5 separate regions of the Homo sapiens genome follow, and regions 1, 3, 4 and 5 are each linked to region 2. The links are contacts of gene promoters, found by promoter capture Hi-C in human tissues and cell types (Jung and others, 2019). All regions are on one chromosome and are shown on one strand. Each heading gives the region's core, a stretch centred on a gene start or on the middle of the fragment in contact. The rest is flanking DNA. Distances are from core to core; before and after follow the strand shown. Region 1 overlaps LINC02981 (long intergenic non-protein coding RNA 2981). Region 2 holds the start of HOXA5 (homeobox A5). Region 3 overlaps LINC02981 (long intergenic non-protein coding RNA 2981). Region 4 overlaps SNX10 (sorting nexin 10). Region 5 overlaps JAZF1 (JAZF zinc finger 1).

Evidence for each region. The method cuts DNA at HindIII sites, captures the fragments that hold promoters and counts their contacts. A contact is called where the count stands out against the background at its distance.
Region 1: a contact is called between a fragment that was not itself captured here and the fragment with the promoter of HOXA5 in region 2, in 1 of the 25 tissues and cell types used here (spleen).
Region 3: a fragment that was not itself captured here is called in contact with the fragment with the promoter of HOXA5 in region 2 in 1 of the 25 tissues and cell types used here (spleen).
Region 4: a contact is called between a fragment that was not itself captured here and the fragment with the promoter of HOXA5 in region 2, in 1 of the 25 tissues and cell types used here (dorsolateral prefrontal cortex).
Region 5: a contact is called between a fragment that was not itself captured here and the fragment with the promoter of HOXA5 in region 2, in 2 of the 25 tissues and cell types used here (bladder and lymphoblastoid cells).

The regions. Positions count from the first base shown.
Region 1 is chr7:26,486,882-26,491,369 of GRCh38, forward strand. All of the region lies in intron 1 of LINC02981 (long intergenic non-protein coding RNA 2981), which reads left to right. Among named protein-coding and RNA genes, the nearest start is that of KIAA0087, 50 kb to the right of the region's middle. The HindIII fragment of the contact is 4,346 bases long and covers 1-3,939 here.
Region 2 is chr7:27,140,755-27,144,944 of GRCh38, forward strand. It overlaps HOXA5 (homeobox A5), which reads right to left and starts at 2,927. Exons shown (of 2, transcript NM_019102.4): 1 at 2,292-2,927; 2 at 298-1,331. The coding sequence starts at 2,853. The coding sequence ends at 1,081. All of the region lies in intron 1 of HOXA3 (homeobox A3), which reads right to left. All of the region lies in intron 1 of HOXA-AS3 (HOXA cluster antisense RNA 3), which reads left to right. The HindIII fragment of the contact is 16,485 bases long and covers 1-4,190 here.
Region 3 is chr7:26,415,817-26,420,565 of GRCh38, forward strand. The region is part of intron 1 of LINC02981 (long intergenic non-protein coding RNA 2981); the gene reads left to right. Among named protein-coding and RNA genes, the nearest start is that of SNX10-AS1, 19 kb to the left of the region's middle. RefSeq lists an enhancer at 1-516. The HindIII fragment of the contact is 3,319 bases long and covers 245-3,563 here.
Region 4 is chr7:26,366,945-26,371,601 of GRCh38, forward strand. The region is part of intron 5 of SNX10 (sorting nexin 10); the gene reads left to right. Among named protein-coding and RNA genes, the nearest start is that of LINC02981, 29 kb to the right of the region's middle. The HindIII fragment of the contact is 8,434 bases long and covers 1-4,657 here.
Region 5 is chr7:27,919,223-27,923,487 of GRCh38, forward strand. The region is part of intron 2 of JAZF1 (JAZF zinc finger 1); the gene reads right to left. Among named protein-coding and RNA genes, the nearest start is that of TAX1BP1-AS1, 180 kb to the left of the region's middle. RefSeq lists an enhancer at 3,935-3,984. The HindIII fragment of the contact is 8,119 bases long and covers 1-4,265 here.

The DNA of each region.
Region 1 (4,488 bases), core at 517-3,016, 660 kb before region 2:
GTCCCAATTTTGCCTTTCAGTAGGTGGTTGCCTGTGAGTTTGTGGCACATTACTTGATTTCTTTGATCTTTGATTCATCTAGGGAAAAAGAGAATAATCTGATCTACCTCTGCGGGTGCTGGTAAGGATTAAATAAGAAGATACATGCAGACCCAGCATGGTGCCGAGCACACTAAGCATTCAGCAAATGGTAACTATGGAAGCCCCGTCACTCCCACCCCTGTCTTACTACACAATGATGGTGGTCTCCTCTCTACCTGAGTCAGACCCATTTAAGGAAATGTGGAAGGAGAAATGCTCCAGGCTCCTCCCCGTTTCCCAAAAAGAACAAAATGAATGGAGACAAGCCGTGAACTTGGCTTTATCACTCTCTTGCATGGTCTGGCTTTAGGGGAAGAAAGAAGACCAGGGAGGAAATCTGCAGTGTGAGCCACTCTTCTCCCCCAGGGTTACTTCTCGGGCTTTTGCATGGGCAATTCTACCTGTAGGTAAAATTTCCATAGGCCCAGGAAACAAAGTAAGTCCAGCAAGTGCTTGGCTAACTGTTGGCAACCAAGGACTTCTGAGATTTTTGCTTATAAGGTTCACCCCAGTTCATGCTTTCAAATGCCCTTGTCTCTCTGCAAAGCCAGCTTCCTTCAAGATTTGTAACTTGGCTTTGGTCAAATAACTTTGAAATTGAATGCTGTATCTCAAGATTGATGGCCCAATAGGCATCAGGACCACATTTGTTTCCTGCCCAGGACTTTTTCAGGGGAGGAGGGATGAATGCGGAAAGGTAGAGCACAATATCAAGGTCCACGAGGGGTGTTCTGCTCCCTTGCCCTACCCCCACATACACACCAACACTACCTGCCTCTCAGCTTCTCTTGCAGCCAGCAGGCCTACTGATCCATCATTTATCACTGTGAGGTGCTGCCTAGAAATCAGGCCCTATGGTTTATTGATGTTGCCACTACTTGGAGGGTCCCGGGAGCCAGGCGCTAGTGGGTTTACTCTTGCAGTGGATGCTGTGGGGCTCTACCCAGATTCTCCTTCAGGACCAAAGCATCATTCCCTCGGCTACCAGGAGCACTGCCTGCTGGTGGCTTACAGTGGAAGCTCTTGGCCTTTGGCCAAAGAGGGCTGCCTTGCTCAAGGATATGACCTCTCCTGGGGGTATCTTGCATTCAATGACTGGCCACTGTGGGGGATACAAAGGCTGGACCCCCTTGCCTCAGTTGGGCCAGTTCTAGGGGCCATCCCAACCCCTGTGTGGCCAGCTGAGGCCTCTGCTGTGACTGCAGCCCAGTTCAGCCTCTCCTGCAGCCCAAGGCTGCTGCCCGCATTCACTCACAGGTGTGGTTCCTATTGGACAACTCTCCAATAGGCCCCCTGGACACAATCTTATTTCAGAGTCTGCTTCCTGGAAAATCTGACATGCCACAATGCTCCCAAAGTCCCTTGGGTGGAGGATTTCATAATGAACAGCCAGGGAGGAAAGACTTTCAGAATGTAAGAGAGAACAATGCGTGACAACCACACCACTGATGTAAATTCAATCTCCAGTCTCCATGACCAGTTCCCCCTCCTGCTCTCCTGGGTGGGTTGGGGGAAGAAGGTAGCTATAGATGTGGTTACAATAAGGTATAGGCTAATGAAATGGTTGAGCCATATTTTTTTTTTCTAGAGTGTCATCACAATCTGAAAATACCATTATCTGTCTGACCCTGAAGGCTTTAATCCATTCTTGGGCAAATTTCTGTGTTTTGGGGGAAATCTAAAAATGAGCCTGTGGAGAGGCATGAGGACTGGTTTATGAGTAGGAGTGGTTAGTCGATCACCTGTTGTATGTGCTTTGAATTAAATGATATAATTCTCTTGCATTATATCCAAAATTCCAATAAAGATCTGATATTTGAGTTTTGAAAAATTCGTCTGTTATCCATATGCAAAAATGATAAGGTGATAGTTTAATACCTTATCAATGACTGGTTGTGGGCTAGCTTAGAGCAAGGGAATGCTTAGAGGGGAGCGGGGATGTGGGTGTGCGGGAGCAGGGGGTTTGTAGGATGAGGTGGCGGGGACAAAGACAAACAACACCTGTTTTTAATTTCTTAGCTGAATACTGTGATGGTATGAGCTCAAACAATGTTTCCCAAAATGCAGTGCCCATATCCCTGGTGAAACCAAAGGGGATAGTAAATGCTACACAAAAAAATTACTGTTTTCATCGTTGTGAATTTGTTACAGTTACCTTCTATTATGGCAAATGTTTTTGGTCTTCTATGTATAGGTAGTGATAAAAAGGTTTCTTTTAAAATAAATTTATTTAAATACAAAATAATTGCTTAAATTAAATATATAGTAGTACAAGTGGCCTTCAGTTAAAAAAATCACAATGGTGGTATGTGAATGATGAAAGTGTGGTTATAAAATCTATTGGCTCCAGAATCAGAGCAGAGAGTTTGCTATCTAGCACATTGTGGAAACTTAGCAAATAGTATATAAAATGCCAAATAACACCATCTAGGCTGCATGTCAAATTGTTAAAACTGCTAACATTTTTGCTGTTTTTGTTGTGTTCCTAACTAAGCTAGTTTTTCCCTCTGCTAAATATTGAGCAGAATTGTTTGAGGACTTTGAGTGTCTAGCATGTTTGCACGGTTGATGAGATTTTGTTACTTATCATGTCCATGTCCATATATTATTGCCCATGAATTACACACCCAACATGTATCAGATATCACTAAAGCCCATTAATGAAACATAAAAAGCTAGAGAATTTAAAGGGAATTGGGGCAGCAGGGGGCTGGAAATCTTCTAGTCTGGAAGATTTCCAGACTAAATATAGAAGCACTTTAAGAACCTTGAGACAACTAGTGGTTTCAAACTTTTTCAGTCACAGAACATTCTGTTCAAATAGTAATAGATCTTACTAAGAAGCCCCTGAGTGCCATGGAGAAAATGATGAAGAACTGCTTGGTTGGAGAGGTGGGGCAGGGGGGTGCTGAGAACAGGAGAGTCCCGCAGGTGATACACAAATGAAGTGTCCCTTCCTCTTTCTGCCAGTGCCCACATCCCACCCAGTTCCAGCCCACCCCTGAGGCTCTTGGGGTGTGGCACACTGTTTGAAAACCTAACCTGAAACAGTTTTCCTTCTTATTCCCTCTGCAACTGTCATTTTGTGTCTGCGGTGTGGTCAATGGGCTTTTATTTTATGGTATGACACAGTGACCGCATACTATCTCTCAGAGCACGACAGATGTGTCTTGCCCAAGGGCGCATATATATATATATATGTATGTGTGTGTATTGAGGGGAAAAACAAACAAATGACCTAGACTATAAGCTCTGTCAGGGCCTGGAGTTTCTGGCTTGTTCATCATTGTGTAGCCCTGGCACTTAGAAAGTCTCCTGGTTCACACTGAATGAACAAACAAAAGAATGAGTAGAAAAGATAAGTTAGTCATCGATAAATTTTGAAAAATGGAATTAATGGGTCAAAAGGTGTGCACATTTTCAAATCTTTTAGTGAATGAGTTTCTTATGAAGACCAGCTGGGGCAGTGGGAGAGGCCATAGTAATCTAAATGTGGTGAGCCCTGCAGGGGATAGTGCCTGGGGTGAGGCAGTAGCGAATGACACAGAAAAGAAAATGCAAATTTGAGATGCTCAGAGAAGAAAGTAAGAATACTAGTGATGGGTGGGTTTGGGAACCTGCGAGACTTGAGCCAAAAGCACTTTTGGTTTGGATCACAAAGATGCTGTGTGAAGGATTGGAAATACCATGGTAATCCTTCACAAAGCCAGTCAGAAGCTTAGCTCAGGGCAGAAGCCAAGTGTTGGCTTAAAAGACATAACTCAGCAGCCTGTGAGGCAGCTCTGGGTGCACCATGCCATGGAGGAGCAAGCAGGAATGGCTGCATGCCCAACAGCTGCCCTGCTGAGTCTGCCGAATCTGAGCCTCAGTCACTGGGCTGGGACGAGTGTGCTCCTGTCATACATGTACAAAGTGTCCCCACCTCTCCTGAGGCTCCTCCCTTCTCCACCTCTCTGAGCCATCCCGCAAGGCATTGGGTGTTTTCCACCTATTCCCTAAGCTTTTCCAGAAAGCCTAGCCCTTGGAGAGCCTCTCTAGTCCCTGAGCACTCCTAGTCCTCATGGCCTGTGGTGTTTATTTGACACCTATCCCTGCCTGGGCGGCTCACTGGATATGCACAGGGCATCTCCCTAACTGGATGACAGGACAGGGAGGGCAGGGTCTGCTGCAATTTCATACTTTCCACACCTCTCATAAGATGCTCCCTCAGGCCATCTGGCTGACTGAATGATACTGATAAACCGAGTGGCTTCTGGGAATGCTCCATTTCCAGTTCCCTCCTGAACCATATGCTTTTTTGGGATTATCCAGCCCATTAACGCCCACAGACTGGCTCATGAGTAGGTTTTCTGAGACCGAAGAGGGGCTTGATTTCTTAGAGCCTCACAGTGGAAAAGTACCAGGAGG
Region 2 (4,190 bases), core at 1,677-4,176:
TTTTTTCTCCTTTTTTCTTGCTCTTTCTCTCTTTTTTGTACCCAGCAAGTTAACTTGGTTTCCTCAGAGATGGACAGGGTGTTCTGGGGCTTTGGAACAGCCTACAGCTTTTTCCACCTTCTGCCCTGAACTTTGCAATGGGTCAGAGGTAGGGAAGCGATGGGACAGTGTTGGTATGAGGTCTCCCTGCACAGGTCATCTGCTCAGGTAGCCTCAGACCCAACAGCTTCCAAGACTGCACAGACAGACAGAAAAGCAGACAGAGCCGCTCACTATTTGGCACAAACCAGACCAAGAGAACTTACAATAGAAAGTTTATTTTTTGTTCCAGTCAGTATTTTTTCCTTAAAAACAAATACAAAAAAAAAAAAAAAAAAAAAAAAGCTGATCACAGTTTGCTTAAAACAGCCAGACTTGGACAATATTTGTAACTTTGTTCACAAAAACATACATCACTGAAGCTGCGCTTATAAGAGCCACTTCCAGAGTTCGTGCAAAGGGTCCTATAAAGGCACGCAGGGACACACCGCTTGGAGTCACAGTTTTCATCACAGAGTCACTAGTCACTACACGTCGAACAAGTTGTGTCTCATCAAGTCACCTCTACAACAGCATTAATTACACAAGGAATATAGGTAGTTTGAATAAAAATATCTTTAACAGCTTGGAGCTATTGAGACAGGAACACTTCCACGCACATGCACAGTTAAACAACTTGAGTGCAACACACAACATTGGCACTAAACGAGATTGAAGGGGGACTTTTTGTGTGTTTTTTTTTCTCTTTTCTTTTTTTGTTATAGTTACTTCAAGTAACACAGCTTGCTTCATATAAATAAGTTAAAACATCTATTTTTTTTCAAGACAAAGCCATTCAGGACAAAGAGATGAACAGAAAGCAGATCTACTTATACAGGCGCTATAATGGCAATAAACAGGCTCATGATTAAAAGATGAATTAGGGCAACGAGAACAGGGCTTCTTCACAGAAGGAACACAAGGGAGTTTCAGAAAGTCACCTTAGTACTGACACTACGCGGGATCCGCTAATACTGCTCAGTACTTTAAACGCTCAGATACTCAGGGACGGAAGGCCCCTCCTGCCGCGGCCATGCTCATGCTTTTCAGCTTATTATCTTTTTTCCACTTCATTCTCCGGTTTTGGAACCAGATTTTAATTTGTCTCTCGGAGAGGCAAAGAGCATGTGCTATTTCAATCCTCCTTCTGCGGGTCAGGTAACGGTTGAAGTGGAACTCCTTCTCCAGCTCCAGGGTCTGGTAGCGCGTGTAGGCCGTCCGGGCCCTTTTGCCTTCCGGGCCGCCTATGTTGTCTGCAATAGAAAAGTCAGCGGTTTAGCCACCAACTCCTGTCTTCCAAAGTCCGCCAGGGGGACAAGCTTGGGTCATGAGCAGGGAACCCAGGCGAAAAGCTCAACAAGTTCTGCCTACCAGCCCGCACACCCCTCCCGAATTTCCTTCTCTCTTCCTTTCTAGAAAGAAAACAATACGATTTGGACCCTGGGAACAATCTGCCCATCTGAGGCTGGGGCCGTGTCCCGGCGGACTCCGGCTTTCCCTGGCCCCTCTCCTGCCCCCTCCGCCCTGCCCCGGGCGCCCCGATCGGGAGGCACAGCCCTCCCAGGCTGCCCACCGCACAGAAACCCAGGAAGCAAGGCCCTTTCCTGAGCGCCCAAGTGGCCTTCGGGTCACCCTCCCTCAAAGTTCCAGCCCCGAGAGCCGCCTCCCGTTTCCAGCCTGCAGGGTTGGGGAGCCTGTTTTCTTTTTCTTCCCTTTCCTTCTCTCTCCCTCCTGCCCCCAAAATTCAGAATCCTGCAGGCTCTCGCCTCGATTCTTTCCCCCAAGCCCCTTTTCGGGGGCTGTAATTAGTAACGCTGTTTCCCCAGCGTAGCCCTCCTCATAAATTATCCGCCGTGACAAGCCCGATTCACGGCTGCTACAGCCATCCTCTACCTCTCTGCGCCTTGCTCGGCTGGCCTGACCCGGGAGCGCGTCCCAAGGCGTGGGGTTCCAGAGGGGTTTTTTGCTTCCTCCCCCTTCCAACGTCTAAACTGTCCCAGAGAACGCCCATTTCCCCCACTATTTGTGAGCGCAGGGTGCTCGCAAAGAAGAGGAGGAAGGAGGAAGGCAGGGGAGGGAGAACGGCAAGGAGAGCTCCGCAGGGCTGGGAGAAATGAGACCAAGAGAGACTGGGAGAGGGCGGCAGAGAAGAGAGGGGGGACCGAGAGCCGCGTCCCCGCGGTCGCGTGGATTTAGAAAAAGGCTGGCTTTACCATGACTTATGTGCAGCTTGCGCATCCAGGGGTAGATCTGGGGTTGGGCGGGCGGCGCCGGGCTCGGCTCGCTCTGCGCACTCGCCTGCTCGCTGCTGGCAGGGGCGTCCTCCTCGGCTCCGGACGCCGTGCCAACCCCCTCTCTGCTGCTGATGTGGGTGCTGCCGGCGTCGGCCGAGGCGCCGCTGGAGTTGCTTAGGGAGTTTTTCCCGCCGTGGTGGCTGTCGCTGCCGGGCGAGGGGGCCACGGCGGAGCAGGGCAGCGGATCGGGCTGAGGAGAGTGCGTGGACGTGGCCGGCTGGCTGTACCTGGGCTCGGCGGGCGCCGCGCTGGCGCTGGCAGCGTAGCTGCGGGCGCGCTCTCCGGAGCCAAAGTGGCCGGAGCCCGAGCGGCCGACGCTGAGATCCATGCCATTGTAGCCGTAGCCGTACCTGCCGGAGTGCATGCTCGCCGAGTCCCTGAATTGCTCGCTCACGGAACTATGATCTCCATAATTATGCAACTGGTAGTCCGGGCCATTTGGATAGCGACCGCAAAATGAGTTTACAAAATAAGAGCTCATTTGTTTTTTGATATGTGTGCTTGATTTGTGGCTCGCGGTCGTTTGTGCGTCTATAGCACCCTTGCACAATTTATGATGAATTATGGAAATGACTGGGACATGTACTTGGTTCCCTCCTACGTAGGCACCCAAATATGGGGTACGACTTCGAATCACGTGCTTTTGTTGTCCAGTCGTAAATCCTGCCTGATGACCTCTAGAGGTAAACTCGTGCACTAATAGGGGAGTTGGGTGGAGGCGAGGGGGGTGGCGCGCGCGCCCCGGGCGCGTGCCCGCCGCCAGTTGCCGCCGTTCAGCCGGACTCGAGCGCCACCCGCTGGAGGCAGGGCTCATCGCCCAGCTTCCGACCGGGGGCTGCAAGGGCCGGGGTCGAATTGAGGTTACAGCCCATTATGGCAAAATTATTGCATTTCCCTCGCAGTTCCATTAGGATGTACCAATTGTTAGGCCGTCAGCTGCCGATCGCGCGCCCGGCGAGGATGCAGAGGATTGGGGGGAGGTGGTGACTTGCATTTTATTTACAACAACTTTATTTCCCCCGTTTTGCAGCCCCTCTTATTTTTGTGTCGAGGTTGGGGTCGGTACTGACCGTCCTGCCAGCAGCTCTGAATTTTGAAAATACAGATATCACCTTCGGGGAAGGGGGAAAGCCATTTAGCCAATTGGAGAAATAAATCCTGCCCGCAGCAGCAGCAGCTACAATTACGGCTCTGTTTTTGCGAGCGCATGAGGGACAGTGTCCCTGCCGCTCTTAAATGACAGGCGTCTATTAAAGATAGCTTTTGTGTAGTGTTTCTCCAAGGCGAGGTCAAATTCCATACACTTTTATAACCGTAGTCGATTTTTCTTTCGTGTGAATATGGTTTTCGTGTCATTAGTTTGCGATTTGATTTGCTTACGTATCCAGCCTGGAAAATCTTCATCACAGGGTCCGGTTCCTCGAGCCAGCCGGGCCCCAAGTCGGAGGGTTCTCCTTGAACCCAGCGAGTGGGCCCAGGCTCCCTGCAGCCACAGAGGCTGCCTGGGGTCTGGGGATCCGTGGGGCGGGTTACTGGGGTCTTGCTTAGACCTCCAGGAGTAAAATGAGGGCGATAATGGAAGCATTCCTTGGCAGTGCCTAGTATCTCTGTAGTTATTTTCCACGGCTCCGAAAGACTCAAGTAAATCACAAATATAGCTGAGAGGCAAGTGGAGTCTCCCCGCTGGAGGCCCGGCGTTGCAGGCGCCCCTGGCACGTCTGGAAGCCAGGACTCTGGCGGCTCCCATGGCCCTGGGCCCCTCGTTGGGTCCTGAACGCTGCTGTGGCGGCGACGCGGGCGCTATCGGAGGCTGGGAGC
Region 3 (4,749 bases), core at 654-3,153, 730 kb before region 2:
TTGACCAGGCTAGTTGTTTACTCTGGTCTTTTTAAGGGAGAAATGGTTTACAAAGGAAACAGATAGTCCAAGTAGGAGTACAGGGAATGGGTTAAATGATTTTTAATATTCTGGCTTATCAAACCTCATGTGCGAAACATATCTATTTATTTAATCTAGCCCCTGGAACCTATCCTTGGCACACTTAATGGCCTGTGGTTGAAGGCACTACATGCATTTGGAATTAACCACACCAGTATAGTCTAAAATACTTTGAAATGCAAATTCCCTTAATTTGGCCATTACCCTTCCTGCAGTTAGTTTGAATTTCTGAGGTTTTCTTGAATCTCCAGAGCTCAGGGTACTTGGTAATCAGACCACAGGAAGCCTGTCCTTGTTTCTGGTGCTGCTACTATGACACTGTTGAGGTTCAGCTGTGGGCCCACATTTAGTGGAACCAGCATATGACACATCAGATGCCAAGCGTGAAGCCTGGGTAACCAGACTGCCTGTGTTCACACCCCAGCTTGGCCAGTGGTTATTTGTGTAAACCTTGGGTAAGATACTATCTCTCCATGCCTCAGTTTCCCATCTGTAAATGGGAATAATAGTAGTACCTACCTTATAGTGTTGTTGTGATAAGTACTTGAATTAGTATACATTAAGTTCCTGAAACAGTGGACAGTACCGTAATATAACATGGTTGGTATTTATTATATTATAAAAATGTTTACTATTTTAATAACATATCATATATATAAATTTGATATAAATAAATTGAATCATACATGTTATGATTCAAAGGAATTGTTTAGTCAATTATGATTAAGTGTGTGGCAAGTTGGCCGGGCACGGTGGCTCATGCCTTCAATCCCAGCACTTTGGGAGGCTGAGGCGGGTGGATCACAAGGATCGAGAGCATCCTGGCTAACACGGTGAAACCCTGTCTCTACTAAAAAATATAAAAAAATTAGCCGGGTGTGGTGGCGGGCGCCTGTAGTCCCAGCTACTCGGGAGGCTGAGGCAGGAGAATGGTGTGAGCCTGGGAGGCAGAGGTTGCAGTTAGCCAAGATCGCACCACTGCACTCTAGCCTGGGTGACAGTGTGAGACTCCATCTCAAGAAAACCCAAAAAAACCCAAAAAAGCCTGTGACAAGTCACTTTCTTTCCAGGTCCCTAGAAATGCAACATTTTTTTCAATGCCCAGGGAAGTTTTGCCCAGCTTGCCTCTAATACAGCAGCCATATTGTAGCAGAGGAATTGTTTTATGGGTTGCAACATTTAAATAAAAGCTTATTAATTAACTACTCAATTCCTTCTGAGGCAGTTTGCAATGGTTTTATTTCAATGTATACTGAAGGGCATTCTCACTTCTGCCTCCCACTGTGTTAAACATAACAGACATTGAATATACACTTATAGCATTGAACTAAGATAAAAATGTTTGTTTAGGCTTGAACTTAGTTGACTTAACTTCTATCATTTGTTTAGAAATTGTCATTTCTTTGCTTTAAGAGCTGGAAAAAATTGCACTAAATAGCAACCTATTTAGACATTTTAAAATACAATTCTTCTGCATGAATTATCCCCATAGAGGTCCGGTTGTGTCTGAGTTTGCTAATGAATCGAGTCACACTCTATTTGTGTTGATGGATTCCAGGCTTTAACACTCTAAGGCTGTTCTTCTAATGTAGGTGTGTGTCACATGTTGTGTTATTATCCACATAGTTCTGAGCAGTGTGAATCGTATGGATATTGGAGAGGTACTTTTTTTTATCTCCTATATTCAAGCTGGGAGTGAAGGGAAAGCAACTTACTTGCTGTCAGTTCCTGGAATTTTTTCTACCCATGCAAGTAGTAGGGCATTGTCTCAATTTATGTTCTACTATTGATGGAGCCCCTACACTGAACTTTCTGGGAAAAGCCAGGAGCTTACTCCTAGGAAGACATCAGGATGAAGGCTCATGACCAGCTTAACATGGCTCTCTGGCATTTCTATGAATCAATCCTTTTATTGACCCCAACCAGGGCGAATTTGAAAGCAGGATCCTTTCAAAGCCCTGGCCTCAAGTTATAGTGCACCCAATTTCTGACTTTATATTCCTATCTGTTGTAGACTTTCCATGCTTTCCTATAGTGCTTATCACAAAATCAGTTGTCCTTTGTGTTTCTTTTCCTGAGTATTTGCAGGAATGAGTCAGATCTTGCTTGTAATATATGGGGAGCCTAGAGGAAAATGGTGTTACTTTACGAGCCAGCCAACAATTCCTTTCAGGGAGGAGACTGCCTGCCACCTTAACGGAAGCATTTGGCTATGAAGATAAGGCCCTCAGGAGATAGCCTGGACAGTCTGGAGCTAGACTGAGAGAGAGCACACTACTCTGTGGAAGATGTTTACAGGAATTTGGGGGCGGGTGGAGAGCAGAGGAGAAATAAGAGAGGAGAGGGTTGAAGTGAGTGAGAAGGCAAGATGGCGGCAGACCCTGGGACCTAATGAGAGCCTTAAGCAGATGGAAAGACTGTGCTTCACGAGAACTGAGGGGTTTTCTGGGGGTGGAGGGATAAATCAAGTAAAAGGGGTTACATTCAAAATCTAGGTTGGCATGGGGCAGCTATGGGAGACGAGACACAAGTGAGGTCAAGAATCCAGCCAAAAGAAGCCACTGGAGATAGGGAAGTGACCATGAGAATATAAGCTGTCAGGAATTCTCAGACATCTAGGGGAAGACATTGGCCCTTCACAGGATGTGGGAAGGAGGCTTCAGCCAGTTTTTGTTTAAACCTCAAAGCAGAGAGTGATCTCAGCTGATAGCTGTATTATACATTTGTACCAGGAAAAAAAGTGTTTTTGAGTTAACACATTTTTGGAATACTGTTACAGAGATGAATGAAACCTTAAAGTAAATTTTATGACTTACATGTCTCATAAAAAGAAAGGCGTATCAGCAGCGTTTAAAAAAAGTTATTTTATAGGATTTTTTTATTCTAACGGATAGAGATTGTCTTTGGAGAATATAAATATTCTAAAGATTTAATGAAGTTATCTGAAGCCACATAGACATTAATTAGAGTTCTGTAATTAGAATTATAGTTATAGAAGCTTCTTGCTGCAAAATAGAGGGTAATATTTCAATATTTCAGGTTTACTGTGCTGTTGGAGCACAGTACCTGATGCATTTTCATATACCATGGCTTCAATAATTCTTTCTAAATAAGCATTTTGATAGATATTTAATAGTTTTAAAATTAATGTTGGGGTAAAACCCATTTTTATTTGTGCTCATCCCAGCCCTCCTTCTCTCACAAGCAGCCCGTCTGCTTTCTGCGCACAGAGCCACCCAAACCGATCATGACACTGAATCCAATCAGAAAAGCAGCATAAAGATGAAAGGTCTTACCAATGAGAAGTGAACTTGCTAAAGTACACCTTTCAATGAATTTGGACAAAACTGAAAAATGTTGTTGATATCAGATCCTTAGGCTGATTACTGAAGCGTTCGATTTTTCAGCATGTCAATTCATCACTGTCTACCTGGTTATATTTAACACTTTCTCCTGTTTCCAGCATGTCTGCTGAGACAGGCAATTGCTGTCACATGATATCTGCCTCTCAAGAAGGTCAGCAGACCATTGGGAGGCCGTGGTTTCTGTCCTCCAGCTGCCTTGATTCTTTCTCAGGTATTACTGACAGCAGATGGAGCCTCAATGTCTTGCAGGATCTAAAATATTAATAAGATTAGGGCTTTTATCCTTCAAACAGTTTAGCCTTTCCTTTTAGAGGCTCTGCACAATGTCTCATCTGTTAATTTATAATACTAGCTCTCCAGGAAGACCTGACACCACTTACGGATACCAAAATACCACTTTGCCCAGAGTCCCTCTTTTTCACTTCGTCAGTGTGCTGGTTCACGTTTTAAATCACGCTCATCTTTCAGAGACATTTGGAGGAGTTTAATTCCAGTTTGAGATGAGAGGTCTTGGGGTGCGTTTTAATAAATATTTGATGGGAATGCTAGCCTTGGGGGGTCATTCTTATTTACAAAATTAGAGATGGCATCTCTTAGGAAAGCTTAACTTCGTGGAAGAGGCGGTGTTTATAAATGCGCACAGCACTCTCATGCACGGGGTGGCCGCCACTTTTCAGAACACAGTAGTTATCCACGGTTCCATTTTTAGAAGCAGTGATTAAATTGCAGAGCACTGCTGTGTGATACCAATTACAATAACCATTGTCGATTCAATTGTCTTTTTTTTTAATGGAAAGCAAAATTCACTTTTCTGCATATAGCCTACAAAAATACATATATCATATGGTATGCAATTTAGATCATTTTAAAGGGCTGTAATGGCATTAGTTTAGATATCCCATTCCAGTCAGGCAATGAGCATCAATTTTGTTAATTAAGAATTTTAGGCTCTGTAAATTTATAGTACAATTACACTTTACTTCATATTGAAGAGGGTCTTTACCCCATGCCACCATTAGAAAAACGTCCACTTATATTATTTGCTGACGATTTCACAGGCAGATAAATTTCACAGGAAGCATTACCATTTCTTTTTTTGCATTGAAATTTCTTATTGAATGCCAATTGTCAGCAGAATGCAACCATGAAGACTTTTGAGTTAAATTTTTCTCTTTTCTTTTCTTCTTTCTTTTTTTTGCTAAAGAAAAAGCCAATTCATCAGGTAGGAAAGGACTGCTTTTCGTGGTCCCAGGTCCTGCCAGAGACAAATGACTGTAAAAATTTAAAATCAGTTATTAACAGA
Region 4 (4,657 bases), core at 282-2,781, 780 kb before region 2:
TTTGATGCAGATGTCATAGTAGAAAGTGTCCTGGTTCAGGAACTCAAGGAGCCGGGTTCTAGGTCTCCCATAATCATGGTTCCTGGTTTTTTTTCTAGCTGCATGTGAGCCTTGGAACAGTCACTTCATTCCTTTTAAGCCTTTGTTTGCTATAGAGTGGGATAATAGTACCCACACATAGCCAACCTCACTGGGTGGTTGTGTCCTACAGATGAAAAGGACTTGAAAAAAACTCTAAAAACCATGCAGCGATCCTTCATTCAATAGATGTTTATTAAGTGAATGCTTTGGGCCAGGCTGCGTGCCACGGACATAGGACTGCACAGAATGAACAAGTCCTTGTCCTGACACTTCCTTCTAGGGGGAGCACTGTGTACACATCCAGGGCTACGGCTAGATTCATTAACACTGAATCTGGATTGTCATCCGATTGGATTGTCAAATCATGGAATTGGCAGGGGGTTCTCTTGTGATATCATTTGTTCCCCTGTGGTATGTGAACATTTGTCTACAAGTTAATATTTCACTTTAAAAATGAAAGCTGGTGCTTCCACACAGCCTAAACCTGAAGGAAGTGAGGAGTCAAATACCACAGGGCTGGCTTCAGGCCTGAACTGAGCTCTGCGGCCCCTGCTGACCCTCCCCAGCCTCCCTTCTGTGTCCCTCAGATCTGTGCTTGCCCGGGTTGTGTAAGGTAGTACCCTCCATGTCTTTGCCCCTGGTGCCCCCTCCCCTCACCCAACCAGGGTCCACTCTAGGGAACTGGATGTGATGTGTACCTTGGCACTGTGTCTTGGCCCCAGTTTGACATCCTCTGAGCCCCCACTGGTTACCTGTTAAGTAGGGCCAGCCATCAATAGCCTGTACCTTGTTTGTAGAGGAATTTTAGGAACCACAGCATTAAAACATGGAAACATGCTTGTATTGTAGGTTTTTCGCATGCATTTTTAAAGCCTGGTTTTCATGTGAGTTTTGAAGTTATGAACCAGAAGCACTAAATATGTTCAAACCTTTTGAAACCACAATGTCTTTGTATATGTGTATATATACCTATTTTTCTTTAAGGTCATTTGTGAAATGATACATATGTAATAAGAAAGTACTGATCTTTGTAGAGGAATTGGAAAATTGTTTCTTTGACTAGGTGCCAAATAAGAATAATTTCTACCATTTATCGAACACTTTCTACGTGTTTGGCATTTTACATGTTTTAGTCTCAGTACTAAAAATCTTAGGAGTTGGGTATTATCTCAGTTTTATAGATAAAGAAATTATAGGAAAGATGGACATACTATATGAATCCCAGAACCTGGCAAATTTAAAATTAGCAGTACTCTTAAATGCTGGCTAAATTTGGTATGATTGTGAGATTTTTCAAATATATTCATTTTTCTTCAGTCTTAACTATAATCTCCCTTTTGTATTCTTGCCCCTGAGTAATTATAAACTTAAAGTCCCTTCTAATAGTTATGAAAAGAAAGTTATAGGCTAAAAAATATAAACTCAGTAAGTCTCTAACTATGAAAAATGGAATTCCTACTAATTTTTAGGTTTGAATGGGATTTTCAATTTAGGTTTGAATAGATTTGTTCATGACTGGGAGCCGCTTCCCTTCTTTACTGAATTCATCCCATTAATACAACTACATTTACCCTACAGTTTAGACTTTAGTATCATGGTTTTGTATTTCTTCAAATATTAAGGAATATTAAAGATTTTTTACAAAAGGCTAGTGTTGAACCATGACAGCTAGTTTTACACACACACGATTTTTATGTCTTTGTGTTCAATAGAGGGCACCACAGCATAGATCATGAATGTCTTCAATGAAGATTTGTAGGTTTTATTTTTTCTTATAGTAAGAGCTAAACAGGCTGAGTTAATTTTTTTTTTCTACATCAAACTGCTAACCTTCCATGTACTATGCAGTTATGTATATATATCATTGTATTGGGTTCAGCAGACCCAGGACATCCTTAGTTAGGATGAAATGATTTTGCATAGCTATATATTCTCAGCTAAACCAGCATATAATACATCTAATAAAATCATGTTGAGGAAAACTGTGCTTTTCAACTGTGTCCAGTTTAGGGAAAAAAAACAGATTTTGCTTTGTTTAGTCTAAAACTGTTATGGGGAAAGGAATAACTTCTGATTTGCACTATAAATATCTTTCTAGAAATTCTTTTAAAATCCTAGAGGCTATTTTTTATTCCTTTTATAAAGGTTTGAAAATCATATACTTTTTAAATGGAGGTTTCTACAAATGACATTTTATTGACTGTTTTACAAAGTACTCTTTATATTAGGTTTGAAATTGATTTTGGGCTATTAGATTTGTTTGTGGAAAATATGGCACAAACATGACTAAGGAAAAAATAGTATTTAATATTATGATGGTGGCAGTCACAGCCCTCTCTGATAGTAAGCCAAATAGTACTCAAAATAAATTAATTATGCTCACCTAACCAGATGGGAAAACACTCTCAAAAATTTTCATTTTAAATTTCAGAATGAACTATCTGACTAAAATAAGCATATAAATACATTTAAAAATTATTTTTGCTTATTTAAAACTCATGGAGTATGGTGGCATGAATTTAGCCAGAGAAACAGAGGAGATTCCAAAAACCAAAACTGTACCTAGCCGACTCACTGGTTTGAACTCTAGGCCTGGGGGAGTGTTCAGATGTCCCCTCCCCAGCCACATCTTTCTGGCTCTTTGGAATTGTGAGCTGGGTGAGCCTGGCTCCTTCTCTTTTCATCTGTGTGTCCTCCAGATGGCAGTATTGAGCAGAAAAAGAAAACGCTGGGAAATAATGAGTCTAATGTACAGTAAAATTGGAAATTGAATTATAGCTCAAGAAAAAGGACAGTAGCCTTGAGGTCCCGATCAACCTGGACTCTGATCACTTTTGTTTGCTGTACCCATGTGTTAAGTTACTAGCAAGTTAATAACAACACGTGAGCAGTTCAAGGCTCAGTAGAATTGCTTCAGACATGAAATAAAGCTAAAATGAATTTGTGTCCAATATCATTGGCATTAGTGCTCATTACTGTTGTGGTGTAATGCCTCAAACCATCTAAAATCAATTTTAAAGATTACCCATTATTTTATAAAGAAAATAAAACACATTTCCAACAGAAACAAAGCCACGAGTACAATCCCATGAACAGTTCCTTGTACTTATGGCAGGCAGGAAACCGCTGACAGAGGCCACAGGAAACACTCTGCTCAGACTTCACAGACTTCACGATCCAAGTTCGTATTAATGGATTGTTGCTCTATAACTCTTCTCTTAATCTGAAGTATTTAAAAACAAGAATGGTGAATATTTGTAAATGTAGAAAATAAATCTCAAAGAGTAGTAAGAGGGATTTACTACTTAGCTACTTGTACTTGGTAAATTAATCATTATCATGTGACATGGTCATCTTTTGGGAGGACCCAGGGCGGAGGACACAGAGGGAAAAAGAAGGATTTAGCTGCTTTGCTTGAGGTTTTGCCTTTTAAAAAGCACAAAGGTTTTACTTTTCCTTCTAATAGACCAGTAAAGAATATTTTCTCAAACTGTAAACCTGCTGAAGCAAAGGGGACAGCTAGATTTTGGTTTTAATACTGTGCATTTTTAGGCATTTTTGCCTTTGTTAAGAAATAATTGTTTTATTTTGTAGAAAAGGATTTGGTATTATAATGACCTTGGATTTTCACTAAATTGATATTAATGGCCAAAAGAGATTTACTTTCCTTATTACTTGTTTAAACAAGCAGAATATAAGGTAAGGTTCATTTGGTCTGAAATACATGATCTATTTTTCACAGATCGTTATATCGGAAAAATCTTATGTTGGACAAAATTCTACTTGGGTTTTAGTGTGTTAGTTTTGTCCCCTGTATCTGGTCTTAGTGTCTCCTCTTACATAATTATTGAACTATCAGTAGAGACTAAATGATCATATGTCAACATCTTTGCTAAAAGATAAACCAGTTTTTATTTAAATATAAAGGTATACTTTGATTTGATTTCATATTCTAAGATGTGCATTTCAGAGAAAACACATTCACTAATATGAATTTGAGCATCTGTAGATTTTGCTACAGGATAGTTTTTAATCTTCCATGTAGTTCTGATGCCCTGGTTGAAATCTGTTCTGTCTTTGTAAACTTTGATCTTAAATGTGGGAAGAGCAGTATGTATTCATCACAAAATTATCATATTTTAATTATATATATGGTAAAGTTGGCTGGGATCAATTTTATTTGGTTGCTCATTTTGACAACACAGAGATTCAGTGCTCCTAAAGATTTTGGAGAAATTTACAGTTAACCTTAAGTATTAAAAAAAGCCATCTCTCTCATGAGCTGTCGTAAACATGCCCTTAAGTATATAACTGTAAAGTTTTAAAATGTAAAATATGCTGAGAATTGTATTTTCTTCATATAATTTTTAATAGTAGTTGAAAGTTTTGATGTTTCATGACAGCCTATCCCATAAAGATCACTGAATTGACATGCTGTTGGCAGTAAATTTTTTAAAGTAGAATAACTTTCTATGACTATATAAGCAAAATATTTCCATAATTAATCCACATGGTAATAAGAGATGGGTAAATTGAAGAAATGTCCTTGAAGTTATTCTTTTAACAGATGTTCTTA
Region 5 (4,265 bases), core at 224-2,723, 780 kb after region 2:
GCTCAACATAGGTGTGTAGACTATCTCATTAGCATGAAATGTAAAATGATATTTTGAAGAATTATGATTTTTGAGCTCTTAGGAGAGAAAAATATTTTGAACCTGGCCCCCCATTGTGAATAGAAACTAAAATGGGAAAATTTGGAGAAATAAACCAATAAGGAATAAAGATCATAAGTCATTCATGCTAAAACCTGTGATGAGAGTTAAAGAAAAGTCATTTAATTTTTCAAAGGTAAACGGAAAATGCAAGCATGTCTACAATGCCTTAAAGCTCAGTAGCTGCTTATCTTGTCAAAAATGTAACTATCAGAGCTGGATAACACAGAACAAGCATGAGGATGCATTTTACGATGATAAGGTAGCAACAGGAAATAACATATTTATAATCAATACAATAGTGCCAAATTTGCTTGGGTGAAGTCATACAAAAGAGGGGTGACTTATGGTTACAAAAGGAAGGAGCAAGCTCAGTTTTGTGCTATTTGACTACAGGAGTGCTCTGGAACGCCAAGGAAGATTGGACCAGCAGTCCAATTCTACCCACACCATTTATTAAATAATTAATACGTAATCATTTCAAAAAGTACTAGCTGGGAACTGGCTCTAAATCTAAATATCACTAATGACAATGTATGTAGAGGCAAATTCAATCCTGGTTTCCAAACAACTTTACAATCAACAACTTGTGGAGTTTACTCTGTGTGCAAGTTGTATTACTGCTTGCACCTTGGAATCCTCCTTCATTGCTACCCTTAGAATCCAAGCTAAAGGGACTCTCTTACAGGAGTGAATGCCTTAAGGGAAGTGCCTTTGGTGTTTGAGGAACCAAAAGCTCCTGGCCCTGACCCAAAACTAATCCACATTATTGTAAGGTACATCCAATATTAAAGGCACTATGGTGATGTTTTAGTACAGTGAGTCCTTAGCGTTCCTTAAAACTTCAGCTTCATTTGGCAACTGATGCCTCTTGGGGAGCAAAATTACTTACATCATTAAAACTTCATCAAGTCATAATTTTATTATAATTGTTAACATAAATAACTGCAGTAAATAAGTACAGAGTGATCGATTTGTTCTTGATATCTCAAGGGAGTCTTTATTTAGCTTTGATATATAAAATCAGGACATTATTTATTTGCATTACAAACTGCATATCAACTATTCACTTGGGCATGTTTTAATTGGTTTTAGGTTTTGCACATTCCATAACTGAACTGTGTAAGCAGGTTGGCTTCAAAAATAAGGTCTCATGTAACAGCTAAGTCTATATGACGATGTGTCATATGGCGTGTCAAACATTTTTCTGCTTTCCTCTGCTTCCCATCCTGACATCAGAAAAAACTTTGTTCTAGTGAAATAGAAAATAAATTCTGCTAAGATGGGATAAAAGGGGAGCATGTGAATAAGACCCTCTTCTTTCCTGGCCAGCAGCAAGTGCCTCCAGCTGTCTGATCTGCCTCAGTAGCCCAGCACAAATTTTTTAGTTGACTAATGCTCCCCACTTCCGCCGACAACAGAGTAAGATATCACCTGCTAAGATAAATTACCATAATATAATGATTGAAGGGAAAATATATGGTGTAATAGAGAGGTCTAAATACCCGTAAGTGGAAAAAAGCATAAACGACCATTTTAATTAATTTCCTAATGTAAAACACAGCTGTAGTAATGTTGGCAAGTCTCACCTGCCCGTTTTAAATTTGTGACATGAAATCATGCCACTTAATTAAGTCTTAATGCACAAAAATATATTTTATTTACTTTTTATGGAATACCAGCATTTAAAGCTTTCTATTTATGTGTGTAAGCGCTTTATAAATTACTTGAAATACTGAAAAAATCTGACTACTACTAACCGGCAGTTACAAGTACCAGTTTTAGTTTCAATAATTAAATGCCTTTTTGGTGGACTCCTGCTGCTATGTGAACTAGCTGTAGGCTATTAAAGTAATGAGTCCGGACAGAGTCATCTGATCTCATGGTTGGTGGAAAACTCAAGGAAAAGGGCTTTGCCCACAATTCCTAGTCTGTTTACCAGACTGCAACCAGACTGCCTGCTGGAAGCATTATAAAGCCTCTGGGCTTCCCCTTCCCCCTTCCAGCAAGTATCTTTTTTTTTTTTTTTCCTTTTTACAAGTGTTGTCTAGGAAAATATGGTATTATAGAGCCCTCTGCAGGCCAGAAGTTTTGTAGTGTAGCTTACCAGCATGATTTTTCTTAAAGTGGCAGTAAGAGAGGGGAAAAGCATAATTGTCAAAACTTCGTAAATCAGATCTCATTAAGAAATATGTTTGTCATAAGGGCAGACTGGCATCGATTCTTCCAGAAGACTCACTGAAAAAGAGCATCTCTGTTAACTTGTTTAAGGGATGTTGCCTTGATAGCAAAATTTTGGAGGGCCCCTGGTAACTTCATAATGGGTTGCAGTGTTAGGGATTATATCATCTTCATCATCATCGTAATTCTTAAAATAATCCATGAAAAATACAGGGCTCTGAACTGTTCACTTAAAAATGCAATTTCTGGCCAGGCATGGTGGCTCAAGCCTGCAATCCCAGTGCTTTGGGAGTCCGAGGTGGTAGGACTGCTCGAGACCAGGAGTTCAAGATCAGCCATGTAGTGAGATCCTGTCTCTACAAAAATAGAAAAGTATTTTTTTAAAAAAAGAATTTATATCACACCTGGGCTTTAGAAGCCTAGGTATAAGGAAGAAGAAATTAGAAGTCAGTTATACGAACTCTATGATTTCCTCAGCCAAGTTTTCATTCGAATGAATGAAGTGTATGCCTAGAAAAATTCAGTGAATTTCTTAAGTGTTTTAGGGAACTTAGTATAAATTTTTACAGGGCATTTTATATTGTGTTTTAAACTTTTTGGATGAAATGGATATAAATCATTACAGAAAGAAATACATAAAGATAAAAATGAGGAAGTGCATTGAAGACAAACAGAACAAATAAATAAGGTCTGATTTTCATTTAGATGGTACTTTTCGAACCACATTTTATGTTGGTTATAAAGTATTCTTTTTTTGTTGGAGACGGAGTCTCACTCAGTCGCCCAGGCTGGAGTGCAGTGGCACGATCTCAGCTCACTGCAACCTCTGCATCCCAGGTTCAAGCAATTCTCCTGCCTCAGCCTCCTGAGTAGCTGGACTGGACTACAGGCTCACACCACCATGTCTGGCTAATTTTTTGTATTTTAGTAGAGACGGGGTTTCACGGTGTTGCCCAGGCTGGTCTCGAACTCCTGAGCTCAGGCAATCCGCCCGCCTCGGCCTCCCAAAGTGCTAGGACTACAGGCATGACCCACCGCGCCAGGCCTTATAAAATATTCTTAAAGTCAGCAAAATAACCAAATAACTTAAAGTCAGCAAAATAACTTTTAATAGGAAAATTTTTCCTAATATTTTCAAGTCAGCAAAAGTACTAACAGCTTTTAATAATGGGTTTTTTTTTGCATAATAGTCAAGAGAGTATTAATTTAAAAGAGGAAGCATTTGACCAAAATATTTCCTTTTATTGAGTTTAATCTGTGCCAGGTAACTCATAAACCTCCTGGAGCACCCAGAGATACATGCTTCTAACAACTCACAGAGGTGCCAGAGCCGTCTCCTCAAAGTTCCTCACCCTGGCAGTAAAACATTATGATCAACATTCGCCTAGAAGCCAGGATAAGTGGAAGAAATGGGAAGTGATATGATGATGAAAAGAATCAGATATTGCATATGTTAAAATTTCCTTCCACAGCATTTTAATCATTTAACAGGGTCTCTTTAAGGACCCGAAGGGAGTTATGAGGAGGCCGTGGTCTGGAGGCAAGAACCCAGGCTGTGGTTGTTGGCGGCAGTCTCCAGATGAGCCTCAGCAGCTCCCTGGGGACTCTGGTGACATTCTAAGACCATGCCTTCTGTGGTTGTTTAGCATAACTGACTGCTGCTTTTCCCAAGGACAGCCATTTGGTGTTGGAGGTTTTTCTAGTCTTCTCTACTCAGTGGTATAGACAAGACCAGCATGTCCTTAGGGTAATGTCTGCAAGGGTTTGGGTTCCAGTAAAATGACTCTTCCAAACGAAAACCCGAAATTAAAACGTCGAGTTTCCAGATTTGTTGAATTCAGAAACAAGTGCTCTCGGCATGAACTGTCAACAGCCAAAGTTAAAACAGGCCAGCTGGTGGCTCCTGTGGGATCGTCTCCACACACTCTATCCCAACTTTGCAGAGTTGAATGTCAGACATTATTCTATCAGGCCTGGAATCCGCT